4 separate regions of the Homo sapiens genome follow, and regions 2, 3 and 4 are each linked to region 1. The links are contacts of gene promoters, found by promoter capture Hi-C in human tissues and cell types (Jung and others, 2019). All regions are on one chromosome and are shown on one strand. The core of a region is centred on a gene start or on the middle of the fragment in contact, and the rest is flanking DNA. Distances in the headings are between cores, read along the strand shown. Region 1 holds the start of GRIK2 (glutamate ionotropic receptor kainate type subunit 2). Region 2 overlaps GRIK2 (glutamate ionotropic receptor kainate type subunit 2). Region 3 overlaps GRIK2 (glutamate ionotropic receptor kainate type subunit 2). Region 4 overlaps GRIK2 (glutamate ionotropic receptor kainate type subunit 2).

Region 1 (3,004 bases), core at 456-2,955:
GTTCTTACATGCCATAGCTATATTTAAATTTTTCACATGGAATTCTTACTAAGGATTCCACTTGACTTGTCACGGAAGTCCTGCTGTTATGTGACATTTGAAAAACCTCATCTTATAGTAACACCTAACCTATTATTCCATGCAAGTGGCCTGTTGCATAGCAATTTAGCTAAAACAAACAGCCTGTTTATACATGGCATTAAAGATCTCAGAGAATAAAGTCAGGACTGAGTCAGGTTTCAGTTGAAATCACACTGTTGCATACTTGCAACTCACTCTTCTTAACTATGCATGCTGTGGTATCCCTTATGATTCTGAACACATTATCAGCTGTTCCAGCAACATTCTGCTGCATTGATGATTAATGACATTTAGAGTTTTGATTAATTTTTAGACACTAAAATAAGTGTATCTTAATTAACAAATTGAAGTGGAATAAATTTACATATCCCAGAACTTTTTTTTTTAAATTTCAGCCTGTGTGATTTTCAATGGGTTTAAATAGGAGAAAACAAACAGATAAGACTTCCAAACATTGCTCAATTCTCTATCACCTTGCTCTTGTGCATTTCAATTTTTTGTTGTTTGTTTGACTCAAAAGTTTTTAAGGCCACTGGAAGTTGATAGGCTGCCTTGGTGGTTACAGGAATAGACTCTATAAAGTTAGAAAGTAATGAACTAAGACAAATCAAGATTGAAATACAATTGCATTTATTTCAGTAACTAAACTGACTAATTAAGACTCAAATGAACCAATCATCTCTCGTGAAATGAAAATAATCATCAATCCATAAGATAATTTCTGATGACAGAATACTTACAGTATGGAGATGAATAAACGATAGAAGATAATCTGTGCATTACCAAAAGGCTACTAATAGTAAGTTTTCTAATATTCCCCATTGCCTAAATTGGAAATTATTCTCTAAGGAGCCTCAGCTCGGTCGTGTTGTTTGGTAAAGAAACTCTATCTCCTTAAAGGTAAAAATATCAGAGGATGTGGTTCGTTAAAAGTTCTTGAGGTTTATGATCCACCCTGGTAACACTGCCCACTCCTTACCCTAATGGGACGCCCTCCAAGTTTTTTCAGAAGCTCTTAATACGGGTGCCGGTTAAAATAAATATACTTCCTCAGCGCAGAACTAAGGAGTAGGGTTAATGGAAGGATGGGTGGGCAGAAGGAGGGATGGGGAGTTCGTCAGACCCGCCGGCAGCCACACAGCTTCTTGCCATCTGTCTCATTCTCTTCGCCTCGCGTGAGTCCCCGTAGCTGAGGCCACTTCCTGACACGTCCACTTCTTAAATCATTTTATGTGGAGAACATAGGCGACTGCAGCCAACAGAGCCACTTGCATGCTTGACGGGAATTGGCTGAGATAAGCCCGACAAAGACTCGCAGTGAATCCGTCCAGCGGGCGCCCCGAGCGCACGGACGTCCGCAGCGCTACTGTTCGCCTTCTTCCTTCTCTCCAGGTGGAAAATGCCCCTCGCCCACCCGCAGTCCCTCCCGTCCTCTTGAAAACAAACACCTCGTGAAGGAGCCCGGAGTGCAGCCCACAGCCGGGGAGTCCTTACCTGGAGCTAGGGGTGAGGTGGGCGGGGAGGGGGTGGGGTGGTCCTCGGGGAGGAGCAGCCGGAGGAGGTCGGGCGGAAAAGTCCCCAGCTACCAGACCGACCAGCGCAGCCGCCGGCGCCGAGCGCGAGTGACGGCAGCGGCGAAGACGGTGACCGAGGAGCAGCAGCGGCGGCGGCGGCGGCAGAGACAGACACGCCTCCTGGCGGGGGTTCCTCGCCTCTTGCTTTAAAGGCGCCGCGCTCCTTTCCCCGTGGCCCCTGCACGCTCCTGGCCGCCGCGGCCACTCGGGGGCATCTCCCACCCCTGGACCACAGGAGCTAGAGCGAGAGAATTCCTGGTGTCCCTAGACTTGGATGTTACGAAGCCTCCGGCTGGACTTCGCTCCCTTAGCGCACACCCGCCTCCTGGGATGGGGAGACTAAGGCCAAGATGCTCTGTCAGGGAGTGAGTGATGCATGCAAAGCGCCGAGGAATTTGCCTAGCCTTGGGTGGTGACAACACATATAAGGAGCCCAAACACATTTGCTTCTGGGTGATGGCTTTTATGCCTCTCCGAAACCATAGCAACGAAACTTCTCCACTGCCAGGGCTTGGAGGGCTGCTGGTAGTCTCCAAAGTGGACCTCTTAGTCCAACTACGGTCATTTCCCTGAGGTTCGCAAAAAAAGATCTTGATCTGCGCACCCTCCCACCCCGACCTCCAGCGCATAGAGCAAATGCGCTCTGGTAGCGCTGCTGCGGGTATTCCCTCAGATGCTGGGAGTCACAGTGCCCTGCTCCCTGCCACCATTATTGAGAACAGATGCTTGGAAATTGACTTTTCCTGAGTGTTAGGAGGTCGGGCGGGCTGTCTCTGTGTATGTATGGCGCCTTAAATAGCAGACTCCCCTCTCCCCACCAAACTCCCGCCCAGGCCCCGGAACTCTCAACCTAAACACATTTCAGAAAGAAGTTGGATTCGAGATCTAGTGGGCGCCGAACCTGAGGTCGCAGACTCCAAGATTGGAGACAGGAGTCTGGGAAGCAGCCCTGGTTTGGCGGCCACTGGTCCAAGTTCTCGGGAGGACTCTTTTAAAGGCCAGAGATGGGGAGGGGCAACTGAGTCCCAGAGTCTTCCCGCAGCTTGGCTTCCAGGGAGGGGCTGGCGGCGGTGAGCGCACCAGGCTCTCCCTGCTTCACTGTGGAAACGATTAGCTTTTGCAAACAATCCCTGAGTTCCGCTCCTCTGGGTCGGAAAAGTCAACATCTATTCAAAACCGTTGCTATTTTATCCTCAGCCCTACAATATTAACTGGAGCTGAGTTTAGCAGTTTCCCCCAGAGGAAGTTGGCCAGCTCAGATTCGCGAGGAGATTTAAGTGAGGCTAAGCGGGAACAGGCCAGGCGCACTGGGCTCAAGAGACCATTTCAAACGGGCTGCATAAAGAAGG
Region 2 (2,776 bases), core at 235-2,734, 380 kb before region 1:
ATGAGATAATACATTAAAGCAGTTCGCACAATTCCTGGCACATGGTGCATAGGCAGGTGTTGGACGATGATGGCGATGATCACCAGAAGAGCGGTAATCTCTTCAGATGGATACTCTCCAGAACAAGGAACCAGTTTAGAAAGTATAATGCTTCAACCCTTCTGCACCCACTGTTAGCCTAAATGGGAGAACAGGCCTCATGCTGTTTAAAACAGCAGATCAGGTTCTAGATGGCAAAGGAGCATGGAGGAAATTAACATATAATAACCTGATCCCTACACAATGTGTTATGTACATGACGCTACAATTCAGTTGAACTCAGAATGCCAAAAAATAAAAAATTGAGTACATATAAGTTACTGACAAATTTAGAATTCAAGAATAAAGATGAGTGGTAAAATATTATAATGTCTTGTATTTAATATTAAATGAAGGACTGCTATTGCACAGATAATTTCACTACAGCATGTAAACTTGGACAAGTATGACTATTATTTTTTCTAGTCTTCAGTTTCTTCATCTATAAAAGGAGGGGATTGAATCAGGTGGATTTTAAGGCATCCTGTGGCTAACATTCATATTACTAGAAAATCCACATTTTACTCTGATTTTATACCGGTTTTGTAATATAACCATAACCCTTATTTGTCTGTCTTCTCTGCATAATTATTTACTCTTTACATTCTACATATGTCTGTCTCTCTCCATAATTCTTTATAATGTTGTGTGCTTGCTTAACAAACTATTGTATGAACATTTCATACAAATTAATAAGGGTAATCAAAAGTAATTATTCTTAGGCCATTGACTGTGTTCATATCCTAGCAAATTACTGCCTGAACAAATAAAACCTGCCAATATTTATATTATGGTCTTTTCTTTGTTGTTTCACCTTCATTGCTGTTAAACTTCTCATGTACATTAAATCTCAGCCTGGCCTCCTCATTCTTCGAAGAAGAAAACTAAAATTCTTTCTTTCCTACCCAAAGTCATTCTCCAATATTACAGCATTTTACCTCCTTTTGCCTCCTCTTACACAGTGAAAACACAAATCTGCTTATGACTTATGTTTTTGAACTACCAGAGAGATTTTATTACAAATTAAATGCATTAAAGAAAATTTCAGAAACTGCATGATGAAATACCTTTAAAAATATATGAATTTTTAGTGAGCCAAGATAGTGCCACTGCACTCCAGCCTGGGTGGCAAAGTAAGACCACATCTCTCTCTCTCTCTCTCCATATATATATATCTATATTCCATATATATACACATATATAATTTCCATATACACACATATATATATTGTTTCCATATATATATGAAGAAATCTGTATCTTCACACTTTGCCATACAGCTAGAATGTATTACCTCCTAGAAATACAATGAGCCAAATCTGTCAGCAGCTCAGACCGGGGCGGGGAATGTGAGTACAGCCTCTGTCTTGTTTCTAAATGAATTTATAGTTTATTATAAATAAACTATACAGTAATGTGTGTGTGTGTATATATATATCTCACACACATATATATACATATATATACACACATATATATATAAAGATTTTTGTCTCTACATGTGTGTCATTGAGTACCCATGAGGGCTGAAAGGAAGAGACAAATTGATGAATTAGGAAGAATATTCAAATTCAGCAATGTTCTGAAGATCAAGTAAAGTAGGCAGCACTGAGTGATAGTGGTTGCTGAGATTCAGATAAGAAACTGTCTTGGCCAGAATTAATGTCATGAATAATTAACAAATCCATTTGTTTAGTGTTCCTGTGAATTTGAATAAATGTCTATGTCTCTCCAAACCAGTGCTCTCTGGCTTAAGCTGAAAGCTACCAAAAAATAGTGATTGCCAATTAGCTTATTTTGAACAACAACCAGTAAATACAGCCTAAAATGTGGCTGACACTAATTTTAACAATAAGAGTTTCCATTGGCCCTTTATGTTTATCTTACACAAATACGGGCTTTCATTCTTTCAAAAACTCTTGTTGGATACCATTTTCTTTAACAAGATAATTTTATAAACAGTATTATTTCCCTGTAAGATTTTAAAGCTTCATAAGGAATGATGTTCAATACATGAAGTTTTAAAGTTATAAATGTTAAAGCTTCAGAAAATGACTACTTTGCCTTTTTCCCAAGAATAGTATATACTTACCATACATATTTTCTCTATAACTTTTCTTTCTGATATATATATCTTTTAAATGTACCATTCCGCAAGCAGAAAATCCTATTTGTTTTTACTGCCACATTATCTAAACTCCTTTAAACGTTTATACAAAAAGTCCAAGATGTTTAGATAATTTTCAAACATCATGTACAGAAACTCTTCACTTTTTAAATATAAATGATTAAAGGACAGCTGTGAAGCAGGTAAGAAAATGCCAACAAGTTTTCAATTAAAAGTTCCATTTAACTAATGTAATTATTCTTACCTAATTAAATTTTTTTTACTAAGATCAGTCCATTGAGATATCTCATTCTGTTTTAAAATGTTACACAAAGCTCTTACTAATGTCCATGAACCACATTGTATTGATGAGATTGTTAATGAACTCTCTAGCAACAATGCACTGGCCTTAATAATTTAGAACCTGTTAAATCTTGTCCGCTTTTTACTACATTTGGAACCGCTATTGATTTAGAGAAGAGTCAATACCAAGGGGAAGTATTCTTTGCACTTCCAGCTGGTCTCCAATACATCCAATTATCTTGATATTTGCAGCTCAGATTAGGTACTTGCATTTAAAAATTTATATTC
Region 3 (3,029 bases), core at 279-2,778, 420 kb before region 1:
GAGACTTTGGCATACTCATCTTTTTACCCCAAGGCCTTTGAATATAGGACATCCTACGGGCTTTATATGTGAGATCTCTGAACATACTGGTTATATAACCAATAAACGTTTTATTTATTGAACATAAATAATAATATTTATTGAACAGAAATAAATGTTTTATTTTCCTCATCTCAGAAATGCCACTTATGTATTGCTTTGAATCCAAATTATATTTCATTTTTATTGATCCTGCTGTGTTAAACTCTAAGTGCCTTCACAAAACGAAACATTTCATCAATCTTTAAATTATATAATAAATATCCAATGAATATTTATTGAATAAATAAATAGAGTAAGTGAGTGAATTACTCCATGATAAAAACTTTCAGACTTTTTTGGTTGACTTTCCAATATCATTCATTCATTTGGCAAATGTTGAACATACATATGTGTCTATTCTTTTATAATTACATATTTTGTTTTCCATATTTTATCTTCATGTTTTTTGTGTTATTCTTAATGTTTTAAGATCTATCTCAATATCATATTTAATGTTTGAAATATTATGCCACATACCTTTACTATGAATTTCCATTTTTTCCTAATTATATTTTATAAGTATTTTAAATAAATATTTTACACTATAGGTTTTGTTTTTCAGGAATGTGTAAATTATTCATATAATTTTGTTTTATAAGTATATTTTCTCTTTGGTTTCTGTGTATTTTTTTCTAGGTAGAAAACAACAGTTTTCAGAATAATTTTTAAATTATTTATCTTATTAATTAGTTGCTTCTTTATTGTTTATTTGTTTATTTTTGGTGACAGTTTTCTCAGTACAAATTTTGTTTTGTAACTCATATTACTACTTTAAATCCAAAAAATGTTTCTATTTCCTCTATTGGGCTATATAATTGTTAACCTCTGAAAGTAGCATCTTTTCTTCTAAAGATGCATGTTAGCTCTGTTTTGTGTACACCGGATCAATGTCACACATTTCTTATTTTCTATGAAATTTATGGAAATAATTTGCTTGATATGTATACAAGAAATTTTTCAAGTAGGAACAAAATAAACATTCCCAGTTAGTTTTAAAAATATTAGTTCCAAATAAAGTTAAATTTATTTTAAATTAAGAAATAATTTAAATTCTCCACTAAAAAATACCTGATACAAATCTATCAAAATTCTCTTTATACTTTCTTACTGGCATTGACTCACAAAATATTCACTGGATGTTGGTAGATGGAAAAAGAAGCAATATAGTTTTCCATTAGACAACAATGTAAAAATGTAAAAAAGAAAGTTATTTGATTGTACATTGTTTTGACTTAATGTCAGGAGAATGTGTCAGCCTTGAATAAAGAATATAAGCCATAGTTTTCCACAGAGATCCTGTGTGATGATAATGAGAAACCACACTGTACATGGGTTTCCAACAGTCTTAGCACAATGCAGACTCTCCATCTTAGAATATGTTTGCTTAAAGAAATTTCTTTCCAGTAATGAGTTGCCCCCAACCATATGACCTACAAAGTATAGTTTTCCTTGAAGTATATTGACTACTTCCCTTGGAAAAAAGTTGGCACCCCGATAGTACTGTTTGAGGGAATTGAGAAATAGAAAGCATAAGAAAGAGATTTATATTAAATGCTGATTTACGTATGAAAGATGTTTCCTGCAATTGACTGAATATACACTAGTGGACTGTTTATTTCTCTATTAACTCATATACCTATTATTTCTGAAAACCTGGGTTTCTCAAGCCAATACAATGCATGAATATTGGGTACAGAAATTTTTTTCAACAGATTAGTTTTCTCACTATTAGTGGGAAATTAGAGACTTTTGTTTTCCTTACTTCACTCCTTCAAATGATGAATAGTTAAATGAAAAGTAGAGATAGTTAGTTGCATTACCGTCTAATAACCCTTGACACCGAAGTTTAATAACTGTTTACTTCCATTGAACTAAGTGTTGAAAAGAGAGCACTTAAGCATTGGCACCTGAGCTCTAGAAAACAAAAAGAAATATTTTACAGCAAAGCCTATGTGCTTCCTGCCAGCTAGAATTTGAGTCCAGAGCAATTGTCTGGAAATTGGCTGACCTTCAGATATAAGTTAATTGGCCTATAAGGATAGGGCAAAGAACGCTTTCGTAATCAGCGTCCTGAAACTCTCAACTAGTGTGCATAGGATCTCGGATTTTACCATTCGAGAACTATAGTGCTAATATGAGTACAATAAATCAGTAAGTATATAATCATCTCATGGAAAGGAATTAATAATCTAACTAAACACTGATTTTTCTCATTTAAGATTTTTATTTTAGTTTAGGGCAATTTAATGCTAAGCACAATTAAAGAGTTAACAGACAGGTTGTGATTTTGATTTTTTAAATAATGTTTGAATTAATGAATTACATGTTCCCAAATATGAAAATACGATACCATTCAGTTAAAAGCCATTTTTCCACAGATAAAAATGTAGGTCAGATTTGATTTGATTTGAAATCAAATCAATCAATTACAATTATGTTATATATATCATAATTGTAATTTATACATATATATATGTTAATTCAAATTTAGTGGTTAAAAGAAAAAAGCCAATATTTAATATTCATTGGTGGGCCAAAATAAGACTTTTTGGGAACCAAAACAATAAATTCTGTGACCTCAAATAAGGCAATCTGATTGATTTCTAAACATAAACATCATTCATAAATAGTTTTCTGAAATATTTTATCGTCCTGAAAGTGTAAAGTTGCCAAACAAAATAATAACTATACACACTGACACACAAAAATGTCGGTACAGTTCTGAGACAGGGTTTATAATGAATTCTATATAAGAGTTAGACAAATTAAATGGCTAACATCTCCAAAGAAAGGCAATAGGCTTGGATCCTGCCCAGGAAGTATTTTTGTTTTTAGAGAAGCAAACATCACTTTTTGACTAATTTAAAGTTTACGAGTTAACATCACCATTAAAATTGCTTTCGTAGAGGAAGGCAAGATAAATCTCAGTTCCTGGACAAGTTGGGGGT
Region 4 (3,078 bases), core at 270-2,769, 350 kb before region 1:
TTTCAGAAATATATTAATATTGACTCAATAAATTAAGATGTACATATATCTTAATTTTATTACAGATATAAAACATAGAAATTCCAAAACATACAAAAATTCAGATATTAATTACTTAGGATGAAATAACAGTTTATTTTCAGAAAAGAATGAAGGCTATCTAATTGAACAAAGCTAGTCATTCACCAAGGAGAATGAGTAAATTTTATGTAGACTTGACATGGCCAAACAGAAAAGCCATTGCCTTTCTGCAGCATGTATCCAGGACATAATGGAAAAACTGCCAAGCCTTATCACACCTGCTGACAACTATCCATGCCTGCTGATTCATGTGGGTATGAATGATGCCATCATAATACACATGCAAACCATTTTTAGAATTCATGACATCCTAGGCAGAAAGCTAAAGGGTTCCTTTAAAGGGTTCCAAGTGTTAAAATTCTTCCTCCCATTCAATGTGTGATTTAGGAAAGGAAAAATGCTGAGCAGCTGGTTATATAGATGGTGGCAGAATCATGATTTAAGATACCAAACTTGGTGGGGATTTGTGACTTAGAAAGTATTTTCAAAGGGACACGGAAGACTTATTTCTCTGGTGAACTGCTGATCTAATTCAGAAGATTTAAACATAAAATTTATGGGAAAATAAAAATAATATTAAAATGTTAACAAGGGTTATAAAAATATAATAGATATGACACAGATAGAAAAACATTAGGGAATTTCCCAAAGCATTCATAGGAGAACACAACCATATTACAGAAAATACCTTTGTCCTCCCATAACTATATATCAACAAGCGGGGTATTACAATAAAGAATATATGGGTGTGTTTGGGAGTATATATGTGTGTGTGTGTGCATACACATATGCACATATGTATTTACAAAGGGAAACTGAGGGATTCAATATTAGAAAGTGGAAGTGAAAATGTATATCTTAATAGAACAAACAAGTCAATTTGAAGAAGAAAATGGGTAACAAAATCTGTCTTATCCACTGAGACAAAAATTTGAAGGTAGGCCAGGCGCAGTGGCTAACTCCTGTAATCCCAGCACTTTGGGAGGCTGAGGTGAGCTGATTAGTTGAGGTCAGGAGTTCAAGACCAGCCTGGCCAACATGGTGAAACCCTGCCTCTACTAAAAATACAAAAATTAGCCAGGCATGGTGGAACATGCCTGTTATCCCAGCTACTCAGGAGGCTGAGGCAGAAGAATCAATTGAACCCAGGAGGCAGAGGTTGCAGTGAGCCGAGATCATGCCACTGCACTCCAGCCTGGGCAAAAAGTAAGACTCTGTCTCAATAAATAAATAAAATATTTGAAGGTAGCAGGATGTTAACAATAAGACTGGAATCTAAGTTGCACTATTTGTGAGGATGATATACACTACCTGGTTAGATGATTAAAATAGATGACTATTCTGTATTTATACCACCAAATGCTAGAGAGATTAGTTAGACAAATGATAGAAAGGAGACAGAAAAAACAGTACTCAATTCTCCTAGAATTATTATTCAACTAAATAAATTAATTTCTTCACTTGCCTAGCTGGCTGGCAATTTAATGCCTCAGACAACAGAGAAAGCAGTAAAGTTACTTTGGGTCAATAAGGAAAAACTCGTGGTGAAGTTGGAATGATGAGACTCCGCGAAATATAATTTGTTATCTTGACATTCTGAATAATCTTGGGGAAGGGTGGTTAGGAGACGAGAATTGTGGGATATAACCATACATTTAGTTCAAGCTTTAAGTCATATTTCAAAACTTTCAGAAAACAGAAAGACCTAAGATTCTCATATGGTGAAATAGCTCAATCACAAAATATTAAAATGGAGTTATTTAAAAATTGAAGTGTTACAATATTAAATGATCCTGATGAGGAGAGAAACTGGGAAACATCTAAAAATATAGCTGCAGGGAGAGCACCCTGAAGAGCTAAGGTGTTAAAAGAACACTGACAACAGAAAAAGAAAAAATAAACATGGCTAATTTTTTTTCTTAGTTTTAATTTTGTAATGGGCATGAAATTTTGAGACTAGTTGAAAGAAAACTAAATTTTATACTGTGATTTCATATTGCCCATCTATTATTCATACATAAAACGTTTCTCAAAAAATATATATAAAATATTTCTCAATCCATCTCAACGAGAATACCAAAAAGCCTTTATAATATGTATAACTTGGCCAGGTGCTTTTTAAGCAATACATGACTGTATTGGTAATCATCAATAGAATGCCAGGCCCATCATGCTCAGCTGTTTTCTATGAGGGTCTGATCAAAAGTCCAGCCCATGTAACTGATTCTTCATAGAGTACTCAATGTGATGTGAAGGTTATTCATTCTGATATATTCCCTAAAGTGTATAAATCCAAAATTTTGATCTCCAAATCTAGATCAGGTTTATATTTCGCTACCAATAGTTATCCTTTCACTGAATAACAAGTTGATATACCTTCAGCTTTTTATCAAAAATTGAAAAAAACTAAATTACTCCATGAAGAATGTTAAGATCATGTTGTTTATTAATCCTTATGTTAGCATTCATTTAATAAATTTTTTACAACATGAAAAAATATCTTTTCAAATGGACAAATATAATAAATAATTTCCCTTTAGTTATGGGAATTGCCTAAAATACTTTGCTTGCTTTTTGCCTTACCTACAAGGAAGCTTAGAATTAAACAGTGCTCACAATTTGCAGTTGCAAACATATGGAACCAGCCCATATGCCCATCAATCAACAAATGGATTAAGAAACTGTGGGCCAGGTGCAGTGGCTCTTGCCTGTAATCCCAGCACTTTGGGAGGCCAAGGTGGGCGGATTACCTGAGGTCAGGAGTTCGAGACCATCCTGACCAACATAGAGAAACCCCATCTCTACTAAAAATACAAAAAAATTAGCCAGGCATAGTGGTGTGTGCCTGTAATCTCAGCTACTCGGGAGGCTGAGGCAGAAGAATCGCTTGAACCCAGGAGGCAGAGGTTGCAGTGAGCTGAGATCGTGCCATTGCACTCCAGCCTGGGCAACAAGAGTGAAACTCCATCTTAAAAAAAAAAAAAAAGAAAAAGAAAA

The links. The method cuts DNA at HindIII sites, captures the fragments that hold promoters and counts their contacts. A contact is called where the count stands out against the background at its distance.
Region 2: a fragment that was not itself captured here is called in contact with the fragment with the promoter of GRIK2 in region 1 in 1 of the 25 tissues and cell types used here (mesendoderm cells).
Region 3: a fragment that was not itself captured here is called in contact with the fragment with the promoter of GRIK2 in region 1 in 1 of the 25 tissues and cell types used here (H1 embryonic stem cells).
Region 4: a fragment that was not itself captured here is called in contact with the fragment with the promoter of GRIK2 in region 1 in 2 of the 25 tissues and cell types used here (H1 embryonic stem cells and IMR-90 fibroblasts).

The regions. Positions count from the first base shown.
Region 1 is chr6:101,392,409-101,395,412 of GRCh38, reverse strand. GRIK2 (glutamate ionotropic receptor kainate type subunit 2) reads right to left here and starts at 1,705. Exons shown (of 17, transcript NM_021956.5): 1 at 1,576-1,705. The HindIII fragment of the contact is 9,322 bases long and covers 1-2,049 here.
Region 2 is chr6:101,774,292-101,777,067 of GRCh38, reverse strand. The region is part of intron 7 of GRIK2 (glutamate ionotropic receptor kainate type subunit 2); the gene reads right to left. Among named protein-coding and RNA genes, the nearest start is that of GRIK2, 380 kb to the right of the region's middle. The HindIII fragment of the contact is 5,236 bases long and covers 1-2,776 here.
Region 3 is chr6:101,809,604-101,812,632 of GRCh38, reverse strand. All of the region lies in intron 9 of GRIK2 (glutamate ionotropic receptor kainate type subunit 2), which reads right to left. Among named protein-coding and RNA genes, the nearest start is that of GRIK2, 420 kb to the right of the region's middle. The HindIII fragment of the contact is 5,014 bases long and covers 1-3,029 here.
Region 4 is chr6:101,744,570-101,747,647 of GRCh38, reverse strand. The region is part of intron 7 of GRIK2 (glutamate ionotropic receptor kainate type subunit 2); the gene reads right to left. Among named protein-coding and RNA genes, the nearest start is that of GRIK2, 350 kb to the right of the region's middle. The HindIII fragment of the contact is 6,459 bases long and covers 1-3,078 here.